Linked DNA regions of Homo sapiens: region 1 is linked to region 2. Evidence: promoter capture Hi-C in 16 types of primary human blood cells and fetal thymus (Javierre and others, 2016). All regions are on one chromosome and are shown on one strand. The core of a region is centred on a gene start or on the middle of the fragment in contact, and the rest is flanking DNA. Distances in the headings are between cores, read along the strand shown.

Region 1 (7,598 bases), core at 852-3,351, 75 kb after region 2:
TCTTTGAGAAGTGGTTGACGGGATCCGTGCCCTTACACAAGAGGCCATGGAGAGCTGCCTTGCCGCTTCCACTGTGTGAGCATGCATTGAGAAGACCCAAGAAATGGGTCCTCACCAGACACCAGATCCGCAGGCGCTCTCATCTTTGGATTTCCCAGCCTCCAGACTATGAGAAATAAATTTTTGCTGTTTTTAAGCCACCCAATCTGTGGTGATTTTTTTACAGCAGCCTGAACAGACTGACAGCTTTGTTCCCCAGTTTGTCACCTCCTGTGTCCTTGGGCCACACCCTTAACCTCAGTCAGTGACAGTTCTCCCCCTGCAAATGAGTAAACTAAGGAGACCTTGCTTTGAGGGAGATGTGTCCTGTAGAGAGAACACTCTAATTAATGCTAATTAAGCTGTTTCCTAATACAAGCCAAAGTAATCATTAAGAAAACAATGTCAATGGTATTAGCATTTGGTTACACTCTTGGGAACAGCTCAGAAAATAAAAGCCTATGAATGATTCCAGAACATGCTTAGAGCTGCTTCCTTGCTGCTGCCACCCAGATCTGACTCCTTAATAAGCCTGAGAAGTCTCCACGAGGAGCTGTTCTTGCCTGGAGCCTCTGGAAAATTGACATAACTCACGACGTGTGTCAGATTGCAGCAAAGATGGAGCTCAGAGAGGTTCCATTCCTGCCTGCTCCATTTTTGAAAACCAAGAGAAACTCATCAGAGTGGCAAGAGAGTGGCCAGCTCTGAGGAAAAGAACCCCTGGGTGGACCTCAACACCCACCCCCGGCACTTTCTGAGCCACTGCTTTCCTCTGCAAAGTGGGGCTATAATCTCTACCTTCAGGGAGAACGCAGATTACAGATACTATATGTACACAGTAGGTAACCAATGAATGGTGTCAAACGTCCACCATCTTGGGGCATGCGGAGTGCAGGGATCCGGCCACAGACCCGGGCCCTCTTCCAGCTGCCCAATCAGAGCCCGCTGCAGCCCACTCCTCACCTGCAGGCCCCTTGCCCCCAACTCATGGGCAGGGTCCCTCTGAAGCTGTTACCCTCATTACTAGAATGTAAGGTCACGGGGCAATCTGTGTGGTCCACAGGTGCATCCCTGGCACCTAGAACACACAATCAAACATTCAGTAAATGTTTGTTGAGGGTCATATGAATGAATGAATGAAGGAAGCGCCCAACGCCAGCCTTTTAGCCAACATTCTCTCATCACGAGAATTTTCTAGGGGCTCAGACACCAGTCCCTGGGTCCCTCCAATTCCAAAGACACACACAACTATCCAGACAGTTCCCTCAAATGCCTCCCCCAGACTTGGGAGAGACTAGTGCACAGGCAGCCTCTCCAGAGCAGTCCCTGCACCAGCCTCCTCAAGCTCCCCAAACTCTCACCCTGCCTTATTCTCCCTGGAGTGGGTGAGGGCCCATGCTGGTAGAACAGCTCTCAACCGCCCAGGCAGAGATGGGCTACCTGACACCTTGTGCTTTCTTCAGAACCCCTCAGGGCCTCAGCTGAAGCTCAGACAGAGTGCCTGCGTGCGCGCGCACACACACACACACACACACACACAACCTAATTTTCAACACACTTGCACAAATATAGAAACATCATGGGGAAAAATGCAAAATACCTATGATTTCTGGAACAAGATCCAAGATGACAAAGATATTCCCTGCTTATTCTGCTCATGCCCGGGCTCCCCTGCCCACCCCCAGTGCGTTCATGTGATATCATGAAAAAGCAGCAGGGGTGGCATGAACTTGCACACCAGGCTGCCCAGGCTTGAGACCCAGCTCTGCCACCTAGAAGCTTGGAGCCCCTGAACAAGCTGCAATTCTGTGCCTGGGCTTTTCTGACTGCAAAATGAGGATAATCACAGCCCCTGCCTCCAAAGTGTCCCGAGGATCAAATGAGTTGATGATACTTGCACGGCGCTCGGATCGTGGTAAGTGTGCTGCATAAGTGCTCCTTAAATCACCATCTGGAGTTTCCATACCAACCTCTCCCTGGCTTCATCTTATTTTTTTCTCCCCCTCATTTTTATTCCTCTCTGATTTCCTCACGTATGTTTTTTAATCTTGTCATATTGAGTGCATCTTTGCAAACTGCTTCTAATTCTTCAGGGAACTAAATGCTGTGTTTCGTGCTCTCTTTTCCCCGTCGCCTCCTTGAATATTTAGTAAGTCTTTGTGAGGACGTCAGCCCCTCCCTGCTGGGCTGGTGGTGTCCTGGGTAAGGGGGCCGTGGCCGCCATGGGAGCAGCACACAGGCCCAGCTTGCTGGGGGCCGCACTCATGGGAAACAGAGAGGGGTGACAGTGAGAACAGAGGCAGGGACAGAGCCAGCTCCTTGATCCTGCTGCCCCTGGAAGCTTCTCCTCCCAGCATCAAGCCCAGGCAGATTTGGGGTTCTGTTGTTTAGGAGACGTGGGATTTCCTTGCTGTAAGTGGGACAAGTATCATCACTGTTAACCATCATGAATGAGAATGAAACAGAATGAGAAGACAAAAAGCCAGAAAGATGTTCTCATTCCTCTGTGCTCACACAGCTCATCAGAGAGGGTTGAGGCATGGGACCCCACGTTCTAACCCCAAGGAGTCCCCATAACCCTGTCTGCTACCCTGAGACACAGGTCCCTTCTTGCTCACATGAAGTAAGCCATCTATTTTTTTTTAATCCCCATAGAACACAAGCGGCAATGAAAAGACACAATATAAAGAAAAGGTTAAGTAGATCAGTGGTTGCCAGGGGTAAGCGAAGGGGAAGATTGGCACAGGTTTCTTTTTGAGGTGACTGATGAAGTGTTCTGGAATTGCTGGGGGGGTTACACAAACTTGTGAATACGCTAAAAACAACCAAATTGGACAATTTAAAAGAGTGAATTCTATGGCATGCGAATGATCTCTTAATTAAAAAAAAAAAAAAGCCTGCAAAAGTTTCATTTAAAACCACAGAAGGCCGGGCACAGTGGCTCATGCCTTTAATCTCAGCACTTTGAGAGGCCACAGCGGGCTGACTGCTTGAGTTCAGGAATTCGAGATCAGCCTGGGCAACTTTGTGAGACTCCGTCTCTAAAAATAGATACATAAATAAATAAATAAATAATAAAATAACACCACAGAGCCCAAAGCCCCAGACCCATCCTAGACAAGGATGCTCCAGGCCTGACGTTGCCAGTGTCTGCAGCAGGCCATCGTAGGACCTGAGTGTGCCTTAAGGGAGTGTGGGATCTGTGGCTGAATTTCAGGAAGATTCAGCTTGTATTTCTTACATGGGAAAGACCCTCGGAAAAGTAGGGGTTGATCTCCCTTCCCCTTCATCACTGGTGGTGGCACCCCCACGGGCACCTAGTGAGGCCAATAGGATCATCTCAGGCACCAAGGTACTCCACGGTCTGAAAGTATTTTTTTTTTTTTGAGACAGAGTCTTGCCCTGTTGTCCAGGATGGAGTGCAGTGTGGCTCGATCTTGGCTCACTACAAACTCTGCTTCCCGGGTTCAAGTGATTCTCTTGACTCAGCCTCCCGAGTAGCTGGGATTACAGGCGCCCGCCACCACGCCCAGCTAATTATTGTATTTTTAGTAGAGACGGGATTTCACTATGTTGCCCAGGCAGGTCTCGAACTCCTGACCTCAAATGATCCGCCCGCCTCGGTCTCCTAAAGTGCTGGGTTACAGGCGTGAGCCACCGCGCCCGGCCCCCTCTCTAAGTATTGTGATTTCATAGGATCCCCTGGCGGTCCCATGAGGGAGACAGGGCCACAGCCACTGTCCCCATTTGGCAGCTGAGTGAAGGTGGAGCTCAGAGGTGGATCCAAACCCAGGCTGGGTTTCCTCGTGGGTCGGAGATGTCTGCTTTACTTTTATTAAAACATCGTCCCGATCTGGCACACCTAAAGCTGTGTATCCGAGTGTGCCGGGCCGGCTCCCTGGGCCCCACCTGCCTTCAGGCCTCCAGCTCTTGCCTGCAGCGACCCCTGGTGGGTGCGCCGGCCTCGTCACCTCCAGGCTGGGGACTGGGCTTCCCCGGAGGCCGCACCTGGAAGGAATACGCCCCGGATAAGGCCCGCGATGGAAACGGAACCCGGCTGGCTCACTGCCAGCGGCCTGGTCAAGAAGGCGGGCTCCGGAGCCCGACTGCCGGGGGTACTTGCCCACCTCACCCGCCTGCCAGCCCTGTGTCCCTGGAGTCCCCAGCCTTTCCACCATCTCAGGCCTGGGATGGAAACAGCACTTCCTGCAGATGGCTTGGGAGGCCTGGAAGGACGGTTCAGGTAAAGTGCACCGCCCGGGGCCGAGCAGCGGCCACAGTACACACACAGGCGCTGGTGCTGCTCCTTGCTGTAGGCCCGCCCCACCTGTTCATGTTCATCAACCCACGCTATGAAATTAGTTCACTCTACGCCAGGCACAGTGGCTCATGCCTGTAATCCCAGCACTTTGGGAGGCTGAGGCAGGTGGATCGCTTGAGATCAGGAGTTCGAGACCAGCCTGGCCAACATGGTGAAACCCTGTCTCTACTAAAAATACAAAAAATTAGCCGGACATGGTGGTGCGTGCCTGTAATCCCAGCTACTAAGGAGGCTGAGGCAAGAGAATCTCTTGAACTTGGGAGGCGGAGGTTGCGGTGAGCTAAGATCACACCACTGCACTCCATCCTGGGCAACAGAGCAGACTCTGTCAAAAGAAAGAACGGAAGGAAGGAAGGAAGGAAGGAAGGAAGGAAGGAAGGAAGGAGGGAAGGAAGGGAGGGAGGGAGGGAGGGAGGGAGAGAAATTAGTTCACTCCACAAACACATCAAGTGTCCCTTGTGTGTCTGAGGCAGGGAAGGGAGGAGACCTGCCTCTTAGTGTTCATAACAAAGAAGGACCTGGACCCTCCCAGGCCACAGGAGCCTCGGCCTGCATCCAGGCCACAAGGGTTTACTAAGCACCCTGTCAGTCCTGCCAGGCGCTCAGGGACCAATGAGATCCCACCTCTGGGAGTCACTGCAGCCCAGAGGGGTGAGGGGCAGTGCCACAGAGAGGCCAGGCCTCCGTGGAAGGAGGGAGGGAGGGTGGCCAGCCCCAGGGAGGGAGGGAAGCCTCACAGGAGAAGGGCACACGTGTCCAGAATGTTCCCTCTCCACAGAGAGGGTCTTTCTCTCCAAAGCACACTGCTGCAGGCAGCATCCGTGGCCCACATAGAAAGAGGCTCGCCTTTGATCCAGCCTGAGAGGTTCCCTTTTTTGTCTCTGCTCAGAAGCGCAGCCTGAAAGGAGAGTGAGGCACTGCCTCCTTTTGAAATCATGCAATTGCTGCTGAGACCCCAAAGAAAGATACAAATTCACTGGGATCTTTCCCCAGATCTGCGTTGCTCTCACTGTAGAAGCTGTTGGGACTTTGCAACAGTATTTAGAAAACACCTAATGCCCAGTTTAAATCTTCTTCAGAAGTCTGGGGATGGGGGAAGGGAGAGGAAATTATTTTAGAATTCCGCTTCCGTGTGGCAACATCCAAAGATAAGAGAAACACAGAGAGCACTGGTGGGACCTGGGAGGAGGCAAAGATTTCTCTAAACAAGCGTCTGGGGCTTCCAATAACCAGACACTGGCTGCCACTTCAGGGTCTTGGCACCTCGAGCTCCAAGCTCCACTTCCAGACACTTGATGGCTTCCAGCCCTGGGGATGTCATTTAACCTTTCCAGGCTCGATGTCCACATCCACTTAACTTCATACATCTCCCTGCAGAGCCCACTATACAGCAAGTACATGCCCTGGAATCCAGGCCCTGCCTCCGGGAGTTCCAATCTGTGTATGGGTATAAGAGGGATGTGTCTCTATTCATAGGGGCTTACAAGGCTGGTGCCAACCATACTGGCACTCTGGAAACTTCTGAGAAGGGGCTCAAACATGTTCTGAGGAGAGGGCCCAGCCGCCTCTACCTGGCAGAAGTCAGGGAATGAGCCCGCTGTGGGTTTTTGAGGTTCTGGGGGCCACTCCCCTTGGCTGTGAGGCTTATTACCCCACTGTGGTGATGGACTGAAAACCCCCAGAGGGGGTGGGGACACACCAAGCTCAGAGACACAGCAGCAAAGTGGGGGCCTGAGAAAGCTGCCTCCCAGGCCTGCTGATCGGGAAATTCCAAACGGGAAAGGATGATTAACAACTGCGGGAGCCGGAGGAGGGGAGAGGAGAGGGACCGGACAGGGAAAAAGACCCCAGATCCTGGGCCTGCCCGAGGGCAGGAGCCAGCCTGGCCAAAGTGAGACTAGAGGCCACACAGACATGGGCCCCTTCCGCGGAACTGGCCTGTCGAGGGAGCGGGGCTGTCCCTGACACAGAGCCTGGGCTCTACATGGACACCTGTCCAGGCAGGGGAGGGGATGCTTTCTGACTGCTCTGCCTCTGGGAAATGGGGACTCCTGGCCTTTCTCCATGCCCCAATATCATCTGTGAGCTCCCTCCCACCCATCACTTGGCCTTTTAAGGAGAGTGACCCCAGAGGGCTGGAGTTCTGGGAGCCTCCAGAGTCCCGGCTTCTGCGGGTCTCAGTGGCTGGGGGGGCGGGGGGTGGGACCAGCGCTGGCCTCGACCTTGCCTTTTCTGCGTCCGCCAAATGTCCCTGGGGGCCCAGGTGATCCTCACCGCCTCCTTACCCTGTTCCTGTGGCAAGCCACAGCCTGGCCTCCAAGCCAGCTGCCCCTCCCCTCAGGAGATGCCTCATCTGGGGTCGCCCTCTTCTGCCCTGGACCCGACCTCCTGGAAGGAAGACCGAGGCGGGAGATGCTGACTGCAGGATTCAGCCAGCCCAGGGCCTGAGCCTGGGCCCTTCGGTCCACCACAGCCCCGATTTTTTAGTGTAAATATTGTATCTAAGTACAGCACATACAGAGAAAAGCGCACGAGTCCTGAGCGCACAGCTCAAATCCCACACGCATCCCCGCAGCAGCCTGCGCAGAGCAAGGGCAGAGCGCCCCCTTGCGGTCACTTCCTGTCACTACTCAACCGAGGGTGCCCGCTGCAAGGTTAGGTCTCCTGGCCTCGTGCTTCAAACAGGAATTAATAGAATCCCACCAGGTGGTGTTTGTGAGGCGTAGATGGCGAGGATATCTGCAGCTGCAGTTTGCTCATTCTCACGGCTGCACTGCATTGCACTGTGTGAGCAGAACACAATTTATCCTTCCACTGCTGATGGGCATTTGGGCGGTTTGCAGTTTGGGATCTGGCCAGTTCTGCTGTTGTGAGCATTCTTAAGCCTGCCTTTCGGTGAATTCACACGCCCGTGGGGTGAGTATGTGCCTGGGGTTGGGATGCTGGGTGGGTGTGTTCCAGTTCAACATTGCTGGCAGGATTGTTGTCTATTTCACTCCCCGCCATATTCCACCACCTCGAATTGTGCCTGGAATATCATAGGTGCTCAGTAAATATCTGTTGAAATGAATTCTCTCCTCTTTTTTTTTTTTTTTTTTTTTGAGACAGGGTCTTGCTCTGTCACCCAGGCTGGAGTGCAGTGGCACCATCATAGCTCCAGGGGACCCTGGCTTGCCCGCCTCTGCCCTCAGCGCCCAGCAGAGAGCCTGGCACATGAGGAGAGAGAGGTTTGAGGGGA
Region 2 (6,590 bases), core at 2,268-4,767:
CTCCCCCATCTAGTCCCACACACTTGCCCCACTGCAGGGCTCCTCCCACTGCACCAGCTGCCTTAGCAAGAGAAGCAAGGACACAGCTCTGGGTTTCAGGAAAGATGGAAACCCAGAAGAAGGGGCCTGCTGGGGCCAACTCTTAGCCTTTGACTAAGGACAGTGTGACAATGCCCTGCCCCCAACCTCCCCCCACCTACAAGCCCAGCCCAGATCAGTGGAGGTCAGAGTGGGCAACCGTGCAACCCACCTCCCTCCCAGCACAGAGTAATAGAAACAGCTACTATTTATTGAGCACTTACTAAGTGCCAGGTGCCATGCTAAAAGCCACGATTCTCTGCCGTACTTATTAAATATTATATTCCCATTTACCAGATGATCAGAATGAGGGTCAGAGAGATGAATCAGCAGGCCTACGGTCACAAAGTTGGTAAGGGAGTGGTGGAGGAGAGGCCTTAGAGAAAAATGTTTAAGCTCAAAGGCATCTCAGGGTTCCTCTTCACTGCCTGGGCTTCGAACCCAGATCTGTTTGATCTGTTCCCTCGGGGCTCTCAGAGGAGATTCAGTGAGACACCAGGACACGGGTAGGGGCATCCACACTCGGGTTTATCCATTCAGCAGCTATCTCAAAGGTATCAGGGCTAGAAAGATGGGCTGGAGGACAGGCACCCCCACACCAAGGAAGATCAGCCCCTCTCCTGGTCCAAAGACTGTCTCATCATGAGCCCAAGCAGATGCCTCTGTCCCAAGACCACCTGGTGTCAGAGAGAACACATGGGCTTTGGGATCATCAGACCTGGGATTGTTCCCTTCTCTGTGTGACCTTGGGCCTCAGTTTCCTCATCTGTAAAATGGAGATACCTAGCTAGTAGGGTCAATGGAAGGAATAGAAAGAGGTTGTGAAAAGGGCCCGGTGCACGTGATAACTAAATGCTGCAGGCTGCTGGGCGTGCACTGTGAACTCTCCCCCATCCTGGGCCTGCAGGGGGAGCAAGCTTTACCCCAGAAGGAAGCAGCAGGGAAGCACGGCCTGCAGAGCCTCCAGGAATGTGGTAAGGCTCCTTGGCGCCGAACCTGACTATGAGCCCTTCTTTAATTAGTTCCCACTAAAAATAACTCCCCCACCACCCGGCTGCACACCTACCTCCTGGCCTGGCACTGAAGTGTGCCTGAGCTACTCTTGGGGGTGACAGCCAGCCTGTGACAGAACCTACAACACGGAGGGTGCACAGAGCAGGAGGCTTTATTGAGGGAGATACAGAAGCGGGCGTGGGCTCTCGTGCCAGCCAGGCCGCGGCCTCCACTCGTCCCACACGGCCCTGCGGCTCCTGCACACCCCTCCCTCCCGGGCTCCTGGACAGCAGGCAACATAGAGGAGTCTTACCCAGCCTTGGCAGAGGTGCCGGGAGGGCCTTCAGAGTCTGTCCAGGGGAGGGTTGGGGGGACACAGGACAGCCCTTCTGTGCTGTCGATGACATGCCTGCCACATCTACCCATCTGTCCACCGCCTGGTCCATCTCTGCCTGAGGGGCCCTCCTGTCACTTGCAACTCTGGAGCCGGGTCCTGTGGTGCTTCTCCTCGGTCAGGAGGGGGATGAAGGTGTCGCTGTGGGAGAGCTTCAGCCGGCTGCTGCAGCTCGGCGCCTCCTTCCCCGCAGGCTCTGGAGGGAGGTTGTCCAGGTCACTGCGGGAGCCCCCGGTCTTGCCCTCGCCCCCGCTGCTGGAGTTGAGTTCCATCAGCTCCAGCTCGTGCTTGGCCGCGGTCTCCAGGACGCGCTGCTTGTTGTAGTACCTGACAAAGTTGTTGATGATGGGGTGGATGGGCAGGGCGATGGCGATGACACCACACAAGAAGCTGATGGCCGCGTTGAGCTTGCCCAGCGTGGTCTTGGGGTAGATGTCGCCGTAGCCGACGGTGGTCATGGTGATGATGGCCCACCAGAAGGACTGGGGGATGCTCTTAAACAGGGTCTCTGGATGGCTCTGCTCCATGGTGTAGCCCAGGGCAGAGAAGACGAAGATACCCACTGCCAGGTACATGAGCAGCAGCCCCAGTTCCTTGAAGCTGCGCTTGAGGGCATAGGTGAGGGTCTGCAGGCCCGAGGAGTGGCGGGCCAGCTTGAAGATGCGCGCGATGCGCATGATCCGCAGCGCCTGCACGGCCTGCTGCACGTTGGTCAGCTCCATCATGCGGGCACCCAGGTGCGTGAGCGTGAGGCTCACGTAGAAGGGGAGGATGGCCAGCACGTCCACAATGTTCATGAAGGACAGCGCGAAGTGCAGCTTGTTGGGTGACGAGAAGAGGCGCAGCAGGTACTCCAGGGTGAACCAGCCAATGCACGCCGTCTCCACGTTCTCCAGCGTCGGGTGCTCCACGCGGTTGCCCTCGGCGTCCAGCACCTGCAGCTCGGGGATGGTGCCCATGCACATGACCACGGACGAGACGAGGATGAGCAGGAAGGAGAGCACGGCCACCACCCGCGCCGGGCACGACGACTCGGGCTTCTCCAGGAACTTCCAGACGCACTTCTGGCAGCGGCGCCAGCGGCCCTCGGCTGCGTCCACGCCCAGGTCGTCCAGGATGAGCTGCACGCGGCGCGCGATCTCCTCCAGCTCCTCGCGCTTCTCGCTCAGGTGGCTCTTGCAACAGTCGTCCAGGAACTTGAGGTCCACCTTCCAGAAGTCCATCTCGTTCTTGAAGCAGATGGGGCAGATGCCCTTCTTCATGTGGACCTCCCCGAAATAGTACACCTCGATGACACACTTGAAGGCGTCCGGGTCCCTGTCAAAGTAGAACTCGCGCTTGCCGGGGTCGTAGTCGTCGCACAGGGAGAAGATGGTGTCGTAGCCCCCAGCCAAGCAGTTGATGAGCTCCGCCAGCCGGGTCTCAGGGTACTGACTGAGGAGGTCCCCGTACAGCACCTGCCGCACGCCCCCCACGTTGACGACTATCTCTATGTCGTCGCTGGCAGCGGAGCTCTGGCTGCCCGGCTCCGGGAGGCTGCGCTCCCCGGACCCGTCCATCCTCCCCGCGCGCGCCCTCGCAGCCTCCGCCCCGCGCCCCCTGCAGCCGCCGCCGCCGCTGCCGCTGGGGGTCCGGCGGGTGCCACCCGTGCGCTGATCTCGGGGAGAGCCTGGCCGGCGCCCGCCTGCGGGGAAGGGCGGTCACAGCGGGCAGCAGCCTGCGGGGGCGCGCCGCGGGGGAGGCATGCACCCGGCGGCGGGGCTCGGGGCTGGCATCCGGGCGCCCGGGCGAGCCCGCGGGGGCTTTGGCGGCCGCCGGCCTCGCCCGGGGCACTCACCCCGGCTGGCTGGCGGCGCGCTCCGCCGCTTCAGCTCGGCCTCCTGCGGGAGCGGGGTCTCCTCGTGGGCGGCTGGCACCGTCCTCCGCCCCGGGGCGCGCAGGCAGCGGCGGCAGGTCCCGGAGCTGGCGGACCCACGCCGTCCGCGAGGTGCTCGAGGTGTGCAGAGAGCGAACTTGGGCTGGCTTTGCCCGAGCCTTTTCTAAACACAATAGGAATTCCAGCCTGACGTCAGGAGCTTTTCAAACTGTACCCTCTTCTGGTGAAATTCTGCAAGGCACGCGCGGCAGCTGCAGGGGACGGATTAACCCTTGGGCAGACGGGCACAGCTGCCGCGCCCGCCGCCACCACCGCGCACCGCCGGCCCCTCCTCGGGCGCAGCGGGTCACCGAGGGGTTGCGACCTGGCTTGAAGCGGCAGGCATTCTCTCTCACTGCTGTTTGGAGAGGATTAGTGGGGAGAGAATGCTGCCGCCTGTTGCTGGGCAGGAAAATGTGCTCCAGGAAGCCCCTTAGAAGGTGACTCCTATGTCTGGGTCCCTCCTCCGGCCTTAGACCCGCGCCGGCTTTTCCTGGTGGGAGGAAAATCCTGCCTGATCCTTGAAGCGTTTCCTGCCCCATCCCCCCGACCCAGCAATGCCCTGCTGTGTTGGTGGCACTGTCTCACCTTCCCCGCAACGCTGTACAAGGAGGACATCTAGTCCAGCCTCCTGTAGAAGGGAAGGGACTTGCCCAAGGTCACGCGGCGGAATGAGAGCAGAGCTCAGCTTGACCGCCTCCTGATCCCGAGCTTTCCGGCTGTCCCAGCTGACCGACGCCTGCTGTTCAGCAGATTTCAATTCTGCCTTGAAGTCCCTGCCGTCTGGCACCTCCTATCTCTCTGCAGTCCCACACCAAGGCCACTAGCTTCCAGACCCCTAGGGTCCAGTGGCTCCTGCTTCCCCGTTCCTCACTCCTTGACCAAGGCCTGTCTCTTCCTGACCAGTGTCCCACACCCTCCTCTCTTCCAGCCTTTGCAGCCACAGCTGTCCTTCTGTCCTCACTCACCTGAACCACTACAGCAGCTTCCTAACAGTGTCTCTCTCCTCCGGTTCACCACTATCATCAATACTGCAAATTACTGATATCATCTATGGCCTCGAGATCGTGTTAAAAATATTCTGGAGGGAAGAATGAATAGGCAGAGCAGAGGATTTTTAGGGCAGTGAAACGTACCATAATGGCGGATATGTGTCGTTATGCAATGGTCAAAATCCATAGAATGTTCACCACCAGGAGCGAATGTTAATGCAAACTCGGTGCTGGGCGATGATGACGTGTCCATGTGGGGTGGTCCACCATGACAAGTGTCCCACCCTGTGTGAGATGTTGATGCGCAGGGGAGAGCTGTGGAGACAGGGGGCATGTGGGAATTCTCTGTACTTTCTGTTGAATTGTGCTCTAAAATATAAAGTCTATTTAAAAATGTATTCTGTAGGCTGGGTTTTTTAAAACTTAAGGACATGTCCGTTAATGGATTATGAAATCAATTTACTGGGTCACTGACAGTATTCTTTTTTCTTTAATGAGTTAGCATAAAACAGAATATATTAGAATACATCACATGAAGTATTATTTAGTGAAACTTCGTTTTACAAATTTTACTTCATTTCCATTTAGCATCAGACAATGACATGCTACTACAGAGTAGGAAATCGAGGCTCAGAAAGGTTGAGTAATAATAAGAGTTGCCACTTATTCTCCATGGGCATCGGAGTGCAGTCTCTGAGTGCTTTGCATTTTTGTCATTTAATTTCCCAGCAACCCCTAAGGAAACAAGATGTCAGGTAACCTGCCGAGATCACTCTGTGGAGCTGGGATTTAACCATTGTCCTGCTGGGTTCTGAGGCCTATTCTTCTCCCCAGTACAGTGCTACACACCACCTCCTACACACACCCCAGCTTCCTCTTCCAATCCTTATGCATGCTACTCCCCTTATCAGCTGTCCGAGTACCTGCAGGGTTAAGTTCAAATTGCATCCTAGTCTGAGCTTAATGGGCTTCTAAATACCCATTCATTCACTCAGTTATTCAAATATTTATCGAGCTCTTATGGCACATGTGTGCAAATGCACACACACACACATACACACACCACCCTAGGTGTGGGGACAGGGTTCATATTCTAGTAGATAATATGTTTTTTGTAAATAATAATTAACAGTTTGGGGTAATGACCTTAACAAGAGGGGTATATGTATTATACAAGAGTGGTGCTTCCTGAATTTCTCCACAGGGGGCGCTGAGGGGCGGCCATCTGGTTGGAAGAGGGAGGGGCTGCATTTGCCTAGAAGCCCAGCCTTCACTCACTCAGGTTTGCATCGGGGTGTCTGATGAATCTCCCTCAGCAGATAGAGCCCCAATAGCTACTCCTTTGTATCGTCATGAAATACAAGGTGCTGTGGAACCCGGGAGTTTGCAGATACCTGGGCAGGCCCAGGAGAGGCTGGTGCATTAAAATTATACCGCTGGGATTTAGAGAGATCAATGTCATTGAAAGAACGCATTACTAACATGTCCTGAGAGAAGAGGACACGCCAGAGGAAATTCCAGGTGTGGCCAGGCAGAAGCAGGAGCGAGGGGAAAACGAGGCCAGGCCCTCTATTGGGGTTTCCTGGGGGAAAAGTTAGGGCAGAACAGAGGAAAGAGTCCAGGATTGGCTCCTTGGGATAATTCTGGTGGGCTTTGAACTACAGAGGTGGTCTCTAGTTGCCTGGTCCCTGGTCTGGGATGATTTAGGGCAGGGAAATATTGCCTTGGTGTGTGAGAGTTTGATGAGGGGAAGTTGGGGGTCTGGGCCTGGAATTGGTGGGTTTGCCTGTGAAAGATACGCTCCAGCCTTTCGCAATCTCTAAGGATGTCACCCACTGGGAGGGGCAGTCTCTCCAGTCTGTGAGGCCACATTGCCAGTCATCAGGAATGCAGAAAATAAGAAATCATAGTTAATACACTATTGACCCCAGGCTGAGAGGATGGCAGGCGGACAAATCTAGAATCTAGAAAGATGTGATGACAAGCTGGAGACTCAGGCCCCCGGAAGAGCCAGTGCGTGAGCTGAGCCTGGAGGTCTGAGTGCCACCTGCCTGCTCAGCTGAAAGGGCCACACGGTTTGGAGGTGAGGCTGGCAGGCCTGAGGCTGGTGGAGTCAGCTGGAAACAGACCCCGGAGGGTCTCAGCGGCCCTGGAGGCATCTGGACCACAAGTCAGCACTTCATACTTTAGGTCGTGGCTCAGTAGCTGGCTGTGAAAT

What was found. The method cuts DNA at HindIII sites, captures the fragments that hold promoters and counts their contacts. A CHiCAGO score of 5 or more calls a contact.
Region 1: a contact is called between a fragment that was not itself captured here and the fragment with the promoter of KCNF1 in region 2, in 1 of 17 cell types (M0 macrophages). The highest score is 5.5, in M0 macrophages.

What each region holds. Positions count from the first base shown.
Region 1 is chr2:10,831,880-10,839,477 of GRCh38, reverse strand. It overlaps a transcript of PDIA6 not described here. Among named protein-coding and RNA genes, the nearest start is that of PDIA6, 23 kb to the right of the region's middle. RefSeq lists an enhancer at 3,713-4,213. The HindIII fragment of the contact is 562 bases long and covers 1,821-2,382 here.
Region 2 is chr2:10,908,861-10,915,450 of GRCh38, reverse strand. It overlaps KCNF1 (potassium voltage-gated channel modifier subfamily F member 1), which reads right to left and starts at 3,517. Exons shown (of 1, transcript NM_002236.5): 1 at 1,226-3,517. The coding sequence starts at 3,024. The coding sequence ends at 1,540. RefSeq lists an enhancer at 5,972-6,472. The HindIII fragment of the contact is 10,094 bases long and covers 998-6,590 here.